Regions from separate parts of the Homo sapiens genome. Here all the other regions are linked to region 1. The links are contacts of gene promoters, found by promoter capture Hi-C in blood cells and fetal thymus (Javierre and others, 2016). All regions are on one chromosome and are shown on one strand. Each heading gives the region's core, a stretch centred on a gene start or on the middle of the fragment in contact. The rest is flanking DNA. Distances are from core to core; before and after follow the strand shown.

Evidence for each region. The method cuts DNA at HindIII sites, captures the fragments that hold promoters and counts their contacts. A CHiCAGO score of 5 or more calls a contact.
Region 2: a fragment that was not itself captured here is called in contact with the fragment with the promoter of OGFRL1 in region 1 in 2 of 17 cell types (M2 macrophages and M0 macrophages); the score reaches 5.9 in M2 macrophages.
Region 3: a contact is called between the fragment with the promoter of SDHAF4 here and the fragment with the promoter of OGFRL1 in region 1, in 4 of 17 cell types (naive CD8 T cells, total CD4 T cells, total CD8 T cells and 1 more). The highest score is 9.0, in naive CD8 T cells.

What each region holds. Positions count from the first base shown.
Region 1 is chr6:71,285,294-71,290,060 of GRCh38, forward strand. It overlaps OGFRL1 (opioid growth factor receptor like 1), which reads left to right and starts at 3,518. Exons shown (of 7, transcript NM_024576.5): 1 at 3,518-3,877. The coding sequence starts at 3,644. All of the region lies in intron 3 of LOC124901339 (a long non-coding RNA gene), which reads right to left. RefSeq lists a silencer at 3,171-4,230. The HindIII fragment of the contact is 6,418 bases long and covers 519-4,767 here.
Region 2 is chr6:70,389,789-70,394,555 of GRCh38, forward strand. The region is part of intron 2 of LOC105377847 (a long non-coding RNA gene); the gene reads right to left. LINC01610 (long intergenic non-protein coding RNA 1610) reads left to right here and starts at 4,414. Exons shown (of 4, transcript NR_125857.1): 1 at 4,414-4,484. The HindIII fragment of the contact is 833 bases long and covers 1,495-2,327 here.
Region 3 is chr6:70,565,073-70,569,839 of GRCh38, forward strand. It overlaps SDHAF4 (succinate dehydrogenase complex assembly factor 4), which reads left to right and starts at 1,858. Exons shown (of 3, transcript NM_145267.3): 1 at 1,858-1,932. The coding sequence starts at 1,869. RefSeq lists a silencer at 2,146-2,205. The HindIII fragment of the contact is 5,796 bases long and covers 1,159-4,767 here.

The DNA of each region.
Region 1 (4,767 bases), core at 2,268-4,767:
ATAAACCTTTGTTAATGTCCCTAAAACAGGATTGACTATAAAAGACAATTCAAGATATGCCAGATACATTTGGGTTTCATCCAAAAAAGTTTAGTTCCTGAAGCACCAGTTTCTTTGTCCTTTGTAAAATGGCCTCACCCTTAAAGGATTTCATAACGAAGTTGAAAACAGAGTTATATTGAAGCATGGCTATAGCATCTGCTTAATTTAGAGCAGATTCTATTTACAGGGAGTCAGAAACTATATTATAGTCCATTGTGATAATAGTTTCTCCTTGTTCCATACATGTGTATATTACTGTTGAATTATATGTTCTTTAAAGACATATTGAATGAATCATCATTACAGCTAACATATATTGATAAATTAATAGATGCCTGGCACTGAGCTAAGTGATGATTTTTATATGAAGCAAAGGTACCCTTCTTTACTGTTGATGCAGGAATGTTAAATACTCTGCAAGGCAGGGATAATGAAAAAAGTTTAGGTATTCGAGAAGGATAATTCCTGTGTATAGAAGCTTGGGATGACAGAACTTCAGCATTAACTTGTAAAAATAACACATAGATTGGGCACAATGTGGTCGTGCTTATTGCTCTAAACTTAAAATTGATTAAATATTATATAAGGTTGGTGTTACGCTTCATGTAAAATTATGTTCTTTAGAAAATATATTGCAAAATCTGGCATATCATCTATGGTCCTATAAAAATTGACACATTTTTCAAAAGGTGGTGTAAAAGGGAAGGATTTAATTGCAGTAGTTACTTAAATGTTTATATGCACAAACACAGATACTTCTCACCATTCCATCATCTACTGATGTATAACAAACTACTACAAAATTTAGTGACCTAAAGCAACAGCCATTTTATTGCATTTCACTCTTCTGTGGGTCAGAAATCTGAGCAGGGCTTTGCTGGGTAGTCCCTTTATTCCAAGTAGGGTCGATGGAGGTCACTGAAAGGTATTCAGATGGTGGATGGGTTGGTCTGGAGGATTCAATAAAAAAAAAAAAACAAAAACGTGGAATCCAGCAGGGGATACTGGAAGGTAGGCCTCAGCTGGTACCATGACCAGAGGATGACCAGAGGCCACACACAAGTGGCCTTTCTAGGAGTATGGCAGTCTCAAGCTAGCTGAACTTTTTACATGGCAGCATGGGGCTAACAGAGAGAATATTCCAAGAGACCCAGTGGAAAATGCAAGGTTCCTTATGGCTTAACTTAGAAAATCCTGGACTATCACTTCTTTCATATTCTATAGTTAAGCAAGTCACTGAGGCCAGCTCCTTCAAGAGTAAGGAATAAGACTACTTCTCAATGGGAAGAGAGCAAAGAACATGTGGCCAACTTTAATCTACATACACCTAAACCAACAGATGGAGCGCCTGGGACACAACAACTATCCTTAGACTTTCCACATCAACAATCTCGGAACACTTAAGGCTGGATGGACAATATCTACTTCTGCAATGTGTTCCGGTCTTCTACCAACGGAAAATCGAATTCCCAGCTTTGAGCAGTTGGATTCCTGTGGTATGTGGCTGCCCCACATCTTCTTCTGCTAAGCCATTATAATCAAAAAGTATTTTTTTTGGCGGGGGGTGGGGGCAATGGAGTCTCACTCTGTCGCCCAGGCTGGAGTGCAGTGGCCTGATCTCAGCTCACTGCAACCTCCACCTCCCGCGTTCAAGTGATTCTCGTGCCTCAGCCTCCCAAGTAGCTGGGATTACAGGCGCCCGCCACCAAGCCAGGCTAATTTTTATATTTTTTTGTGGAGATGAGGTTTCGTCATGTTGGCCAGGCTGGTCTTGAACATCTGACCTCAGGTGATCTGCCCGCCTCGGCCTCCCAAAGTTCTGGGATTACAGGCGTGAGCCACCGCACCCGGCCCCAAAAGTCTTTTTGTGCACCCCGTGTCTATTTCTTATTAGTTTCAGAGCTTTTCCCAGTCATAGGATCACAGAAGGTCAGAGCTGGAAGGGCTCCCAGAGATCTGGTTTCATTTTACAAATGAGGAAGTTTAGGTTCATGTGACCTACTTAAAGTCAGAAACTGATTAGTGACAGAGCTACAGCCTAGATGTCTTGTTGCAGTGCATGAAGAGCTTAGGTAATCCTGATTTATCCATGGAATAGGCAGCTGGTTTACCTGATTCTTCCCTTAGAAACAGTCCATCTAACATGATTTGGCTTCCTACTTCATCATGAAACATTTGAAAAGAAACTATTCATTCCAAGTTCAACAGTTTAATCTTCAAATATCTAGCTCATCTTTCTTAGTCCATATTTAACAAATGTTTACTGAGCATCCACCAAGTTGACAGCACTGTAAATACAGACACACTTTCAGACGGGGGCTGCCTGCAAAGAGGCTTCCCTTCTAGTTAGAAAGCCAGAAGACACATTTTACAACAGTCACTTTTCTCTGGGTCACATATTTGATAATACTACCTTATCTTTACGTACTTCTATAGGCTTATGCCTGTAATCCCAGCTATTGGGAGGCTGAGGCAGGAGAATTGCTTGAAACCAGGAGGCGGAGGTTGCAGTGAGCCGAGATCGCGCCTCTGCACTGCAGCCTGGGCAACAGAGGGAGACTCTGTCTCAAAAAGAAAGAAAAGAAAGAACAGAACAACAGAACAGAACAGAACAGAACAGAACAGAACAGAACAGAACAGAACAGAACAGAACAGAAAAAAGAAAGAACTTCCCTAACACAGTTCTCCCTCCTCCTTTCATTTGCAGAACAGACCACAGGGCCGAGGCTTCTTCCATTAGAAACAGCCCATCTGTTCTACTGATTCTGAGATTTTTGCCTACACGGAGCACCAATTTGTAGTGGGTGTAAGGTTACCCGCAAATCAATGTGATGGTCCAGTTGTTACTGTTCCTTTTGTTTCACGAGCGATTGCTCATTAGATGAGGTGACTGATAGCTCTGACTTTTTCTAGACCACAAGGACTCTAGGTGGCTGCCCTAAGTACAGTTGTGGCAGCTGGGATTTCCTGTTTATATGGTGCCCGGCACCATCAGCTTTTGTCCTCTGCTGCAGCTAAAGTGTCTTCCTCCTGGACCAGGGAGAGGGGGAGGGGGTGTGGACAGGACCCGCCTGCTGACGGTGACACCTCTTCGACACCACGTCCACGCCAGTCCTCAGCTCCAGGAGCTGGGCGGGATCCCTCATCCCGCTCAGCTGGGAGATGCCCCGGGAGGGCGTCCCCCGGCTCCGGGCGGCGAGGGTAGTAGCCGACCCCAATCCACTCCGGGGGCCGCCGGGGGCCGCGTGAAGGCAGGTGTTCCGGGGAGAAACGTGGAAGGGAGGCGCGGCCTGGGGCCGGTGGCGCTCGGCTGGGGGCCGCAGTTGGCTCCCCTGGGGGCTCTGGGCGGCGGCAGCTCCCGCCTGTGGGGAGGAGAAGGAGCCGGATGGGCGGGTTCAGGCGCGCGCGGCGGCGGTCCCGGGGCCGCCGGCTCCTCCCCGCGAGGGTGCCTGTCCGCCGCTCGCCGCGCTGAGGCAGTGCGGGGCGGGCGCGCCTAGGCTGCCGCCCAGCGCCCTCGCCGCGGCCATGCCCGGGCCCTAGAGCGCCTGCCGCAGCTTGCGCCCCGCAGCCCCGCAGCCCCGCGCCCGCCGCCGCCTCTTCAATGGGCAACCTGCTCGGCGGGGTCAGCTTCCGCGAGCCCACCACCGTGGAGGACTGCGACTCCACCTGGCAGACCGACTCGGAGCCCGAGCCCGAAGAACCAGGGCCGGGCGGCGGCAGCGAGGGCCCGGGGCAGGAGTCCGAGCAGCCCGCGCAGCCCCCGGAGCAAGCCGGCGGGCGGCCCGGCGCCAGCCCCGCGCCGGACGAGGACGCCGAGGCGGCGGGCGCCGAGCAGGTACGCGGCCCAGCGGTGGCCTCGGGTCGGGCTGGGGCGCCCCGACACCCCAGAGGGGCAAGTGCCAAGCCGCCCTCGCGCTCGGAGGCCAGGGGCGCCAGGTGGCTGCTCGCCGCTGCGACCCGACCCCTCCGCGCCGCGGCTGACCTGTCTCCCGGTGGAGCCCGGGGGCCTGCAGGAGCCCAAAGCGCCGGACCCTCCCACTGCCGGCCTGGGGCCTGGCCGAGGGCACGGCGAGGAAGTCCCTCAAGGCAGAACCCAACTTGAATGGGTGTTTTCTTTGCCTCTGCAGAGCAGCTGGATTATGCGAAGGTGGGGTGGGAGGAACCTGTCTAAAAATAGAGGATTTTGACAACCCCTCTAGTGTGTGTTATTGGTAAAAAAAAAAAAAAAAAAAAAAAAAAAAAAAATTACTCAGAATAAGGTGGGGCTACAAGTGCAAGCAGCCAGCGCTCTCCCCTACAGTGGGGTCTAAGCCGTCAGAAGTGTAGGCCCTCATCTGAAGTTCATACGTCACTGTTCTGCCCAACTCAGGCCTTTCAACCTAGGATTCAGGGCATTCTTCACGAATCTTATTTCACCAGAAGACTTGTTGATCCAACTGTGTTTGAACTGTTTGACTAATACAGCTTGGAGGAGAGGTTAGTCAAGAGATAAGCCCCTTAACCTCTGATGGACTGAAAATAATCAGGAACTTTAAAAAGGAGGAAATATGTAGCCGACCCCCTGAAGAAGTGTGCATCCTGGAGGTGGTTCAGGTTTGCCGCTCCACATTAGGCCCTTCTCTTTATCAGCTAGGGGCGATGGAGATTGGGAAAATGGAGCCCAAAGTCCAATGTGACCACAGGGTTTTGGGGGAATCATAACCTAAATATTACAGCTAACACCGC
Region 2 (4,767 bases), core at 661-3,160, 900 kb before region 1:
TAATATTGGGCAAAAGAAGCAAGACACAGTAACATAAATACTATGATTCCATTTATAAAAGTTAAATACAGGCAAAACTAAACTATATTGCTTGGGAATGCATAGTTAGGCAGCAAAACTATAAAGCAAAGCCAGGAATTCAGGAATTCTCTCTTTCTTCTCTCCCCTTCCCCTCGTCTTCCTAGAAAACAAAAACACCAGGGTAGTGGTTTCCTCTGAAGGGTACCGAGGGGTTTGCCCAGAGGAAAGGCACATGAGTGCTTAAAAGGGTGCTAGCCTTGTTTTACTTATTGACTTGGATGGTGGTTAAATGGGTGTTGCCTTTAGAATAATGTGCCAATTTTTTTTGTTGTTTTGTGCATTTCTATTTTATATACTGTATTTCACAACAAAGTTTTAAAAAGATTTTTAAAAGACACATTTAGTAGATAAAGCTGAAGGGAGTTACTCAACATTCCTATTATAGATATTTGGTTGTCTCTCCACGTGGACTACTAAGATAATGGAATTCAGCTGCACAGTGGGTCTATGTAAATATCCATTTGTGTACTGACAAAGAGGACTCATGCCCTGGAGCTGTTGTGATGTTTAACTGAAAGGCATTTGATCAGAGGTTGCCAGGATCCATTAGACATTAAATATATCATCAACCTAATTACATATGACTTACTAGTTCAGTGCTGATTATATCCGAAATCATCAGAGTCTTAAAAATAGTCATGCTTGTTTGTCCCAACAATGTTTTCAACCATAGTTTCTGTGGTTCCAACCACATATGGAGAAATAATATATGTCCTCACGGGGAGAAGAGTGATTTCTGAGTTTTAAAAAGTCGAAGGTTGTCATTTTGCCACTTTGAGAATATCCCTTGATCTAGTTTGATCTATGTATGTTCCACCTAGAGACTAAATTAAAACTCTAGCCAAAATATTAAAGGATGGAAATATAGTCCATGACTGTGGTTTATCATTCCATTATTAGAATTGACTAGCAGTATTTTGACACCTAGATAGGACTGCTTTGGTGTGTCTAGGTGTATTGTATTATTTAAGTTACATAATATTAGAAACTTAAAATAAAAACAACTTGGTATCAGAATTGGTGACTGAGTTCGAGTTTGGTATTCAGCTGTTTCCATGCAACTGAATTGTTAAAATGCTTACAATTTCCTGTGATTTATTTTCTAAAGCAAGAAAAGGGACCTAACATTAATATGCCTCTTTTAGATTAATTAGATTTACTTTAATGAAATATACAAACAAGAAAGTATAATTTATATGTATAGTTTAAAGAATAATAATAAAACACCCATTTACCTACCATACAGCTTAAGAAATAGAACATAACCAAAACCTTCATTTCCCTTTCTCCCCCATAAGAGGCAAATGCTACGCTACGCTGAATTTTGTGAATATCATTCCATGCTTTTCTTTGCAGCTTTACCACGGGTATGATACATATAATTATGCATATTGTTTGGTTTACCTGTTTTTAAGCTTTATATAAATGAAATCATGTGGTAGCATTCTTCAATAACTTTTCTTCATTCATTATTGTACTTTTGAGATTTATCACATCAGTAAATGTATCTCTACTTCATTCATTTTAAATGCTATATATTCAGTATACCGTGACAGCAGTATCATATACTTTCAGGGCACTGCCAATATTTCTTCAACAATTGCCATTTCCGTATACACCAGCCCTTCACCTGCCAATGCCTCCATTTTTTGCCTGAAGGCTTTCTCTGGCCATCAGTGACTACTCAGTCTGAACACACAACGGGCTGAAAATACCAAGGAATTAACGTTTCTCGGGAGCAGTTCTCAACCAATAACTTGGATAAACTGGAAGTAAGTGTTGTAAACTGTCCCCCAGAGTTCCCCAGCAGGATCAAACTCCAATTGCCCACAGTGATAATGTGATAACACACCTTTATTGGTTTTCTTCCCATCTGTTTAACTTCCCCATTATCTACTGGTGTTTCTTGGGAACATATCCCAAACAAAACCCTTTCCACTCATTGCCACAGGTCTGTCTCTGGAGGCACACAAACTAAGACAGCAGGGAAATTAAACTTAAGAACCTCCAAATACCTGATTCTGCTATGCCTCCAAGATAATGTAGCCATGCTCCAGATTTCTTCAGGGATGTCTGAGAGTTAAGCTCCTCTCAAAATCCAAAATAGGAAACAGAAATAAAAGTCCTCGGCCTGTTCGGCCCTCACTTAGTTAGCACATGTAAAACTGAAACACAACTTTCCTGAATCTCTTCCTTCTCTCTCTTTCTTCTCTCCCCTTCCCCTTTTATTCCTAGAAAAATAGACAAGCTTTTCTTTAACTTTCCCTACATCCTGTCTTCCTTCCCGGTTGGAAAGCAAGCTTTCTGAGTTCACTACCATTGACTGAAGGGACATCCTTTCTATACTACGGTAGAACTCTGTGTTCTAGGTCATCCAGGCTCAGCCCTGGGTATGTTAAGTAGGAAAGATTAAGGAATTTATAAAATTCTCTCTCAAAACTTGTATACATTTATTTTTTAATTTCAGAAACTATCACTTGTCTTTACCTTTAATTCTTTCTGAAACATCCATTTCCCTGGTAGAGGTTAGACAGTAAAGAAAAAATACATAGGAGAAAAAAGGAAACAAAAGGCAAATGAAGAACACAAAATTTCAGGACCTATTCATAGAAAAATAGGCCAATTTCAAACAAACAGTTCTCCCAAGACTCAAAGAAACTAAAGGCAAGTTGGCTTTCCTTAAAAAAAAAAAAATTATCCTGAAAGAATAACAAGAGATCGATCAAAAGAGAGATGAAGCAAGAACAGGAGATAAACAGTGGGTGTGTGGAGCTCAGAGATGAATAGAAGCATAAGATGAAATTATTACAGAGGTGAAATTCTCATTAGAGTCAACAAATGGTAACACATATATATGGATAAAAATACAGTCTAGGACAAAAAGAAAGCCCTTGAGTAAATAACATAAAACGAATTGGAAAAGAACAGAGATAAAATAAGAAAGGAGGTGGTATGGACATTAAACAAATAATCACTTTCATGGAAGAAAATAATATATGGAATGGGAAAAATTCAAATATATAATTGAATATAATTTTCTTGAAACAAAATCTCAAATCTATAGATTACAAAGACATAGCTTAGCCAAATTCCTGAAAATGTTGATGAAGGCTAATTAGTAAGATAACTTAAAAATGGATTTAGAGCAGCAGGTTGTAAGAAGTTACACAGCAGAAAAGAAGCACATGAACCAACTCTACCAAAATGAGAAAGAATAGGAGGAAATGAACTGAAGAGGTATTTAAGATCCTGGCATTTAGTAAGCCGACCATGGTATGGTTGTTAAGAGGCCAGCGCTGTAAACTGCCTAGATTTGGATCCCATCCCTGCCGTTTATTACCTGTGTGACCAAAGCAAGTTATTTTGCCTCTTGGTGCCTCAATTTTCTTAATTTTAAAATGGAGGTGATATTAGCCACCCACATAACACAGTGACTGTGAAAATTGAGAAAATACATTTAGTCTTCTTTAAAAAATGCCTTTCATATTCAGCATTGTCAATTATTATTAAGTTCAACAGAGCTTGGTGATTCTCTGAAGGTGAGAGAGTAAGAGACAGGGAAGACACGAGTTGATTCCTAGGTTTCAGGATGTGACAATCATAATGCCATTCACTATAGAGAGAATACAGAACAAGGGTAATACAGAAGAAATGATTTTTTTTAATTCTCAATTGATATAGTCCCCACCCAAACCTCATCTTGAACTGTAGTTCCTGTAATTCCTATGTGTCGTGGGAAGGACCAGGTGGAGATAATTGAATCATGAGGATGATTTCCCCTATCCTACTCTCGTGATAGTGAATTAGTTCTCACGAGATCTAGTGGTTTCATAAGGGGCTCTCCACCAACGCTCTGCACTTCTCCTTGCTGCCACCATGTGAAGAAGGACATGTTTGCTTCCCCTTCTGCCATGATCGTAAGTTTCCTGAGGCCTCCCAGCTATGCTGAACTGTGAGTCAATTAAACCTCTTTCCATTATAAATTATCCAGTCTTGGGTATGTCTTTATTAGCGGTGTGAGAACAGACTAATACATCAATTATAATGGATTCATTTTGAACATGTTAAGATTGACTTATCTTTGAGAAGATAGGTAGAGAGGTCCTGTGGGCACCTAGAACTCACCTAGGGCTGAAGGCAGGTGTACATGGCTTTAATGTGTGTGCAGAAGCCATGAATGTGGATAAGATCTCCTTTGTGATGTACATAATGAAAGAAGAAAAAGGGCGAGAACTGAACCTGTGGAATATTCCCATTTATCAGCTGGCAGAAGACTAAGGCCTGTGACAAAGGATCAGTGGAAAAATAAAGAAGAAGGAGAGGATAAATGATGAATCAAAGGCACAAGGACAGGCTGGGCACAGTGGCTCATGCCTGTAATCTCAGCACTTTGGGAGCCCAAGGTGAGTGGATCACTTGAGCTCAGGAGTTCAAGACCAGCTTGGGCAAAATGGGAAGACCCCATGGTGGGAGGGATATATACATATATGTATATACATAAATAGTTGTGTGTATATATACACACACATATACAGTTGTATATACGTATATATATATATAGTTGTGTATATATACACACACACACATATATATATAACAAGTACATTGGAGAGGCTGTGTTCAGGAGCACAGATGAACAGGTTGGCCTTTGCCAAGGGAAGCACATATTTTCCACCGAGAAAGAGA
Region 3 (4,767 bases), core at 608-3,107, 720 kb before region 1:
GAGAATAACTGTTTATTGCTTTAAGCCAATAAATTTTGGGATAATTTGTGAGGCAGCAATAGATAACTAATAATCTTGTTCTGATTAAGAGCCCTTCTGCAATGGAAGCTCTTTTTTTTTTTTTTTTTTTTAACGTTCAATAGGACCCAAATGTTTTCATGCTTTGGGACCACTTTGAGAGGTCCTATTCCAAAGACCCAGTCCAAAACTTTTACATTCCCAGTTCCCAGCCACTTGACAAACCAGTCACTGCCTATGAAATGTCGATTTTTATCTCAAGCCATGTCTCTTTTTAGGCAAAGCATACAAGATAAGCTAAATTCTGGCCAGGCACAGTGGCTCACACCTGTAATCCCAGCACTTTGGGAAGCTGAGAGGGGTGGATCCCTTGAGGCCAGGAGTTTGAAACCAGCCTGGTCAACATGGCGAAACCCTGTCTCTACTAAAAATAGAAAAATCAGCCAGGTGTGGTGACATGTGCCTGTAAAAACATAAAATACATAAATAAGCTAAATTATGCATGCTGGAAATAATTTTTTTTCCCTGTTCTGTTCCTTCAGGGCCTCTGTTAAGTGGGGCTCTAAATATGAAAAGCAGTCAGTTGCCAGCTGGGCCAGTTTATTGAGCAAAGCCATCATCCGACTTTGAATTTTTTCCTCAGTCAGCTAGTCACAAGGAATTCATTATTAAACTGTAGATATAAGCTAAAGGTCAAAAGCATGATATTAGGACTGTGAGCTCCCTACAAATGAAAACTGTTTCCGTTTTGACTTTGGCCCAGTTCTGTGTATCCCACTTTCTCTCTTTTTTCTTTTTCTGTTTTTGAGATGGAGTTTTGCTCTGTCTCCAAGGCTGGCGTGCAGTGGCGTGATCTCTGCTCACTGCAATCTCCGCCTCCCGAGTTCAAGCGATTCTTCTACCTCAGCCTCCCAAGTAGCTGGGATTACAGGAATGTGCCACCTCGCCCGGCTAATTTTTGTATTTTTAGTAGAGTGTTGGCCAGGCTGGTCTCGAACTCCTGACCTCAGGTAATCTACCCGCCTCGGCCTCCCAAAGTGTTCGGATTACAGGAGTGAGCCACCTTGCCCGGCCCACTTTCTCTTCGTAAAAGGATCTCCTTATCTAGGAGAACCAGATAATTCTCAGTTCATGATAAGAAGCTTCGATCGTATAACCACTTGATGTCACATGGTCAGACACTACCAAGGCGCAATAGCTAGCCAGAAACTTTTCTTTAAAAGAAAAGACAAAATTCCAGAATTCTGGGGGCCTTCACTATGATTCTGTAAATATTTCCACGAGTTGCACAAAGCATCCAGGTCTGCCACATCCACTCAACGCTATCAGAGCTGGTGGGATGTAAGGGTTAAGGGGCAGAGCTCATTGCACTGGATCCTGGCCTGGATGGAGAGCCTTTTCTTGCTTTGCACCTCATTCAAAAATGTCGCCTTTCATATCATCTGGTTAGTCGGTCAGAATGGACGAACTAGGAGCTGACTGAACAAAGATTTAAAACACAAAACAGGGAGAATTAGGTAAAAGAAGCATTTTACATGAGTGAGAGAGTAAAAGGTGCTCAATCTTTGTAAACTATAAAAGGGATCTTCCACGGGCCATTTCGGCTCAGACTGACAAGCATGAACGGAACGGAATTATTCCCTCTTCTAACTGCAGCCACGATTTGGCGTTTTAACACCGGGCTCAAGGTAGCCTGGGTCTCTCTTGGCCAAAGAGCCCAGGGATGCCTCTAACTCCTTTTCTAAAGCCGGCCACGGAGGCCCCGCCCTCTGCAGGGAGGCTCCGGATCATGCCCCCTGCTCCTCCCACTACTGCTTTGCGCCTGCGCGGAGGCTCGGGGAGTCGGCGCCATGACCCCATCGAGGCTTCCCTGGTTGCTTAGCTGGGTCTCGGCCACGGCGTGGAGAGCGGCAAGTAAGCACCTGGCCTCGGGGCCACGGTCGCGGGAGGGGTCGTGAAGGCCCAGGCGCAGAGAGAAGCGCCTCCCGCGGAGGAAGCCGCGTGTGTCCTGGCCGTTCGGTGTTGCCAGGGGCTGCCCAGCTTCTCCCGCCCAGCCGCCCACCCGGTGGCCTGGGCAGGTTCCTGCAGCGCCCCGGGTCTCGGGTGGGACTAGAGCGAGAAAATCGCTAAGGCCCTTTCAGCCCCCGGGACGTCCGCTTCCTACCGAGCACGCGGTGGCCCAACAGGACCACAAACGTTCCGGGTTGTTCCTGTGGGAGCTCGCAGGGCACACCGCACTTCGATGCCCCAGAGAAAAATGGAAAAGAAGGCCCTTTGGGAATGGGAGTCATTGATTTACTTATTTATTTACATCATTATTTACAGGAATCCGCGCTCCTGGTCCAGGCTCCAGCAGAAAAGGATTTGTGGCAGTTTACAGTTTATCTTTTAAAAATGGGAAAAGTGCAGAAGTGAGCCAAAGGCAAATAAGTATAACGTAAATTAGATGAAGCCAGGAATTGTCAGTACAGAAAAAGCATTCATGCTTTCAGTAAAACCAACATTTTTAAACCCATTGTTGTTGGAAATTTTTCTCAAGATAATACAGTTAGCAGCCCAGACTATGCAAAACATAATTTTATTTATTTATTTATTTATTTGTTTATTTATTTTGAGATGGAGTCTCGCTCTGTCCCTCAGGCTGGAGTGCAGTGGCGCAATCTCGGCTCACTGCAAGCTCTGCCTCCCAGGTTCACGCCATTCTCCTGCCTCAGCCTCCTGAGTAGCTGGGACTACAGGCGCCCGCCACCGTGCCTGACTAATTTTTTGTATTTTTAGTAGAGACGGGGTTTCACCGTGTTAGCCAGGATGGTCTCGATCTCCTGACCTTGTGATCCGCTCGCCTCGGCCTCCCAAAGTGCTGGGATTACAGGCGTGAGCCACCGCGCCCGGTCCGCAAAACATAATTTTAATATATGACACCTGGAGAAGTTATGTAAGTTGAAAACAGTAATTATTGCCCTCAAATGGTGCCAGATTTCTATGCAATTTGTTTTCCTTTGTGCAATCATTTTACCCAAATACAAACATTTTACTTAATTGTATAAGTTTTAAATAGTCCAGAAATGAATAATACAGAAAGTGAAAGTCCTACATTATCCAAACCTCAAGGTAATAACGTTAAAATTTTGTAGGGTTCATTCAACATCCCCCTTTAACTAGTTTTAAACAATTATGAATTATTCCATATATATATATGTATACACACACACACACGTAGCACACATGTAAGCTATGTAGCAGTCATGTAAGCTATGAAGCACAACCAGCATCTATGAACTTATACTCCAATTTAAGAAATAGTCTCTATTGCCAAGGAGGTCTCTATTTGCTGCTTCCTGATACAACTGTGCAATGGTGTTTTTAATCTTTATAGAAATGTTTTCATATTGTTGATTTTTTTTCAGATAACGCTGTGTTTTGTGATTGAGTCACATTGACGCATGAGGTTGTAGTTATTCATTCAACTGTGTGAACATATGATGCATTTTCCAGTGCCCTTCTCAAAGGACATTTGGGTAATTCCAGAAACACTAGGATTGGGTGCTACACATTCTTGTGTACCTTATTTGTGCATTAGTGGAAGGAGTAGAATTCCTGGAGTATGTTATAGGTCTTTTCATTGTTACAATATAATGCCAAGGTGTAACGGCATTTTCTAATTCTATAGCAATTTTCACTTCTACCAGCAGTGTATTGGAGTTCTGTTGTTCCACAAACTTGCCGAAACTTAATTTTGCCTTAGGTTTTAATTTTTGGCTGCCTACAGGGAAATGAAATGACACCTCATTGTGATTTTGCTTTTCTCTGATTAAAGAAGTAAAACATCTTTTCAAATATTCACTTTTTGTGAAATACCTCTTTCTTTTTTCTTTTTTTTTTTTTTTTTTTTTGAGGCGGAGTTTCGCTCTGTCGCCCGGGCTGGAGTGCAGTGGCGCGATCTCGACTCACTGCAAGCTCCGCCTCCTGGGTTCACGCCATTCTCCTGCCTCAGCCTCCCGTGTAGCTGGGACTACAGGCGCGCGCCACCACGCCCGGCTAATTTTTGTATTTTTAGTAGAGACGGGGTTTCACCGTGTTAGCCAGGATGGTCTCGATCTCCTGACCTCGTGATCCGCCCGTCTCGGCCTCCCAAAGTGCTGGGATTACAGGCGTGAGCCACCGCACCCGGCCTCTTTTTTCTTTCTTTGTTTTTGAGACGGAGTTTCACTCTTGTTGCCCAGGCTGGAGTGCAATGGCGAGATCTCAGCTCACTGCAACATCTGCCTCCTGAGTTCAAACGATTCTCCTGCCTCAGCCTCCCAAGTAGCTGGTATTACAGGCGCCCACCACCACACCCAGATAATTTTTTGTATTTTTGGTAGAGACAGGGTTTTGCCATGAACTCAGGTGATCTATCAGCCTCGGCCTACCGAAGTGTTGGGATTACAGGCGTGAGCTGCCACGCCCGGCCTTTTTTCTTAACAGATTGCTTCTTATTTATATTCTTTACATATATTTGTATGCTAAACCTTTTTTAGTTACGTAAGTGTCAAATACCTCAATTTGTGGTTTGTTTCTGTCACTGCTAGGCAGAATAGAATAACGGGTCTGCATGTGTAATCATGCAGCTTCAATATAAAAGGTATCTTAATAAACAGATGTTTATAATTTTATCTATAAAATTTTGTCTTGATCCTTTTGTTTATTGTGACTGCCTTGTGGTCTTGTCTAAGAAACCCTTCTGTACCCTAAAGTCATGGACATAAT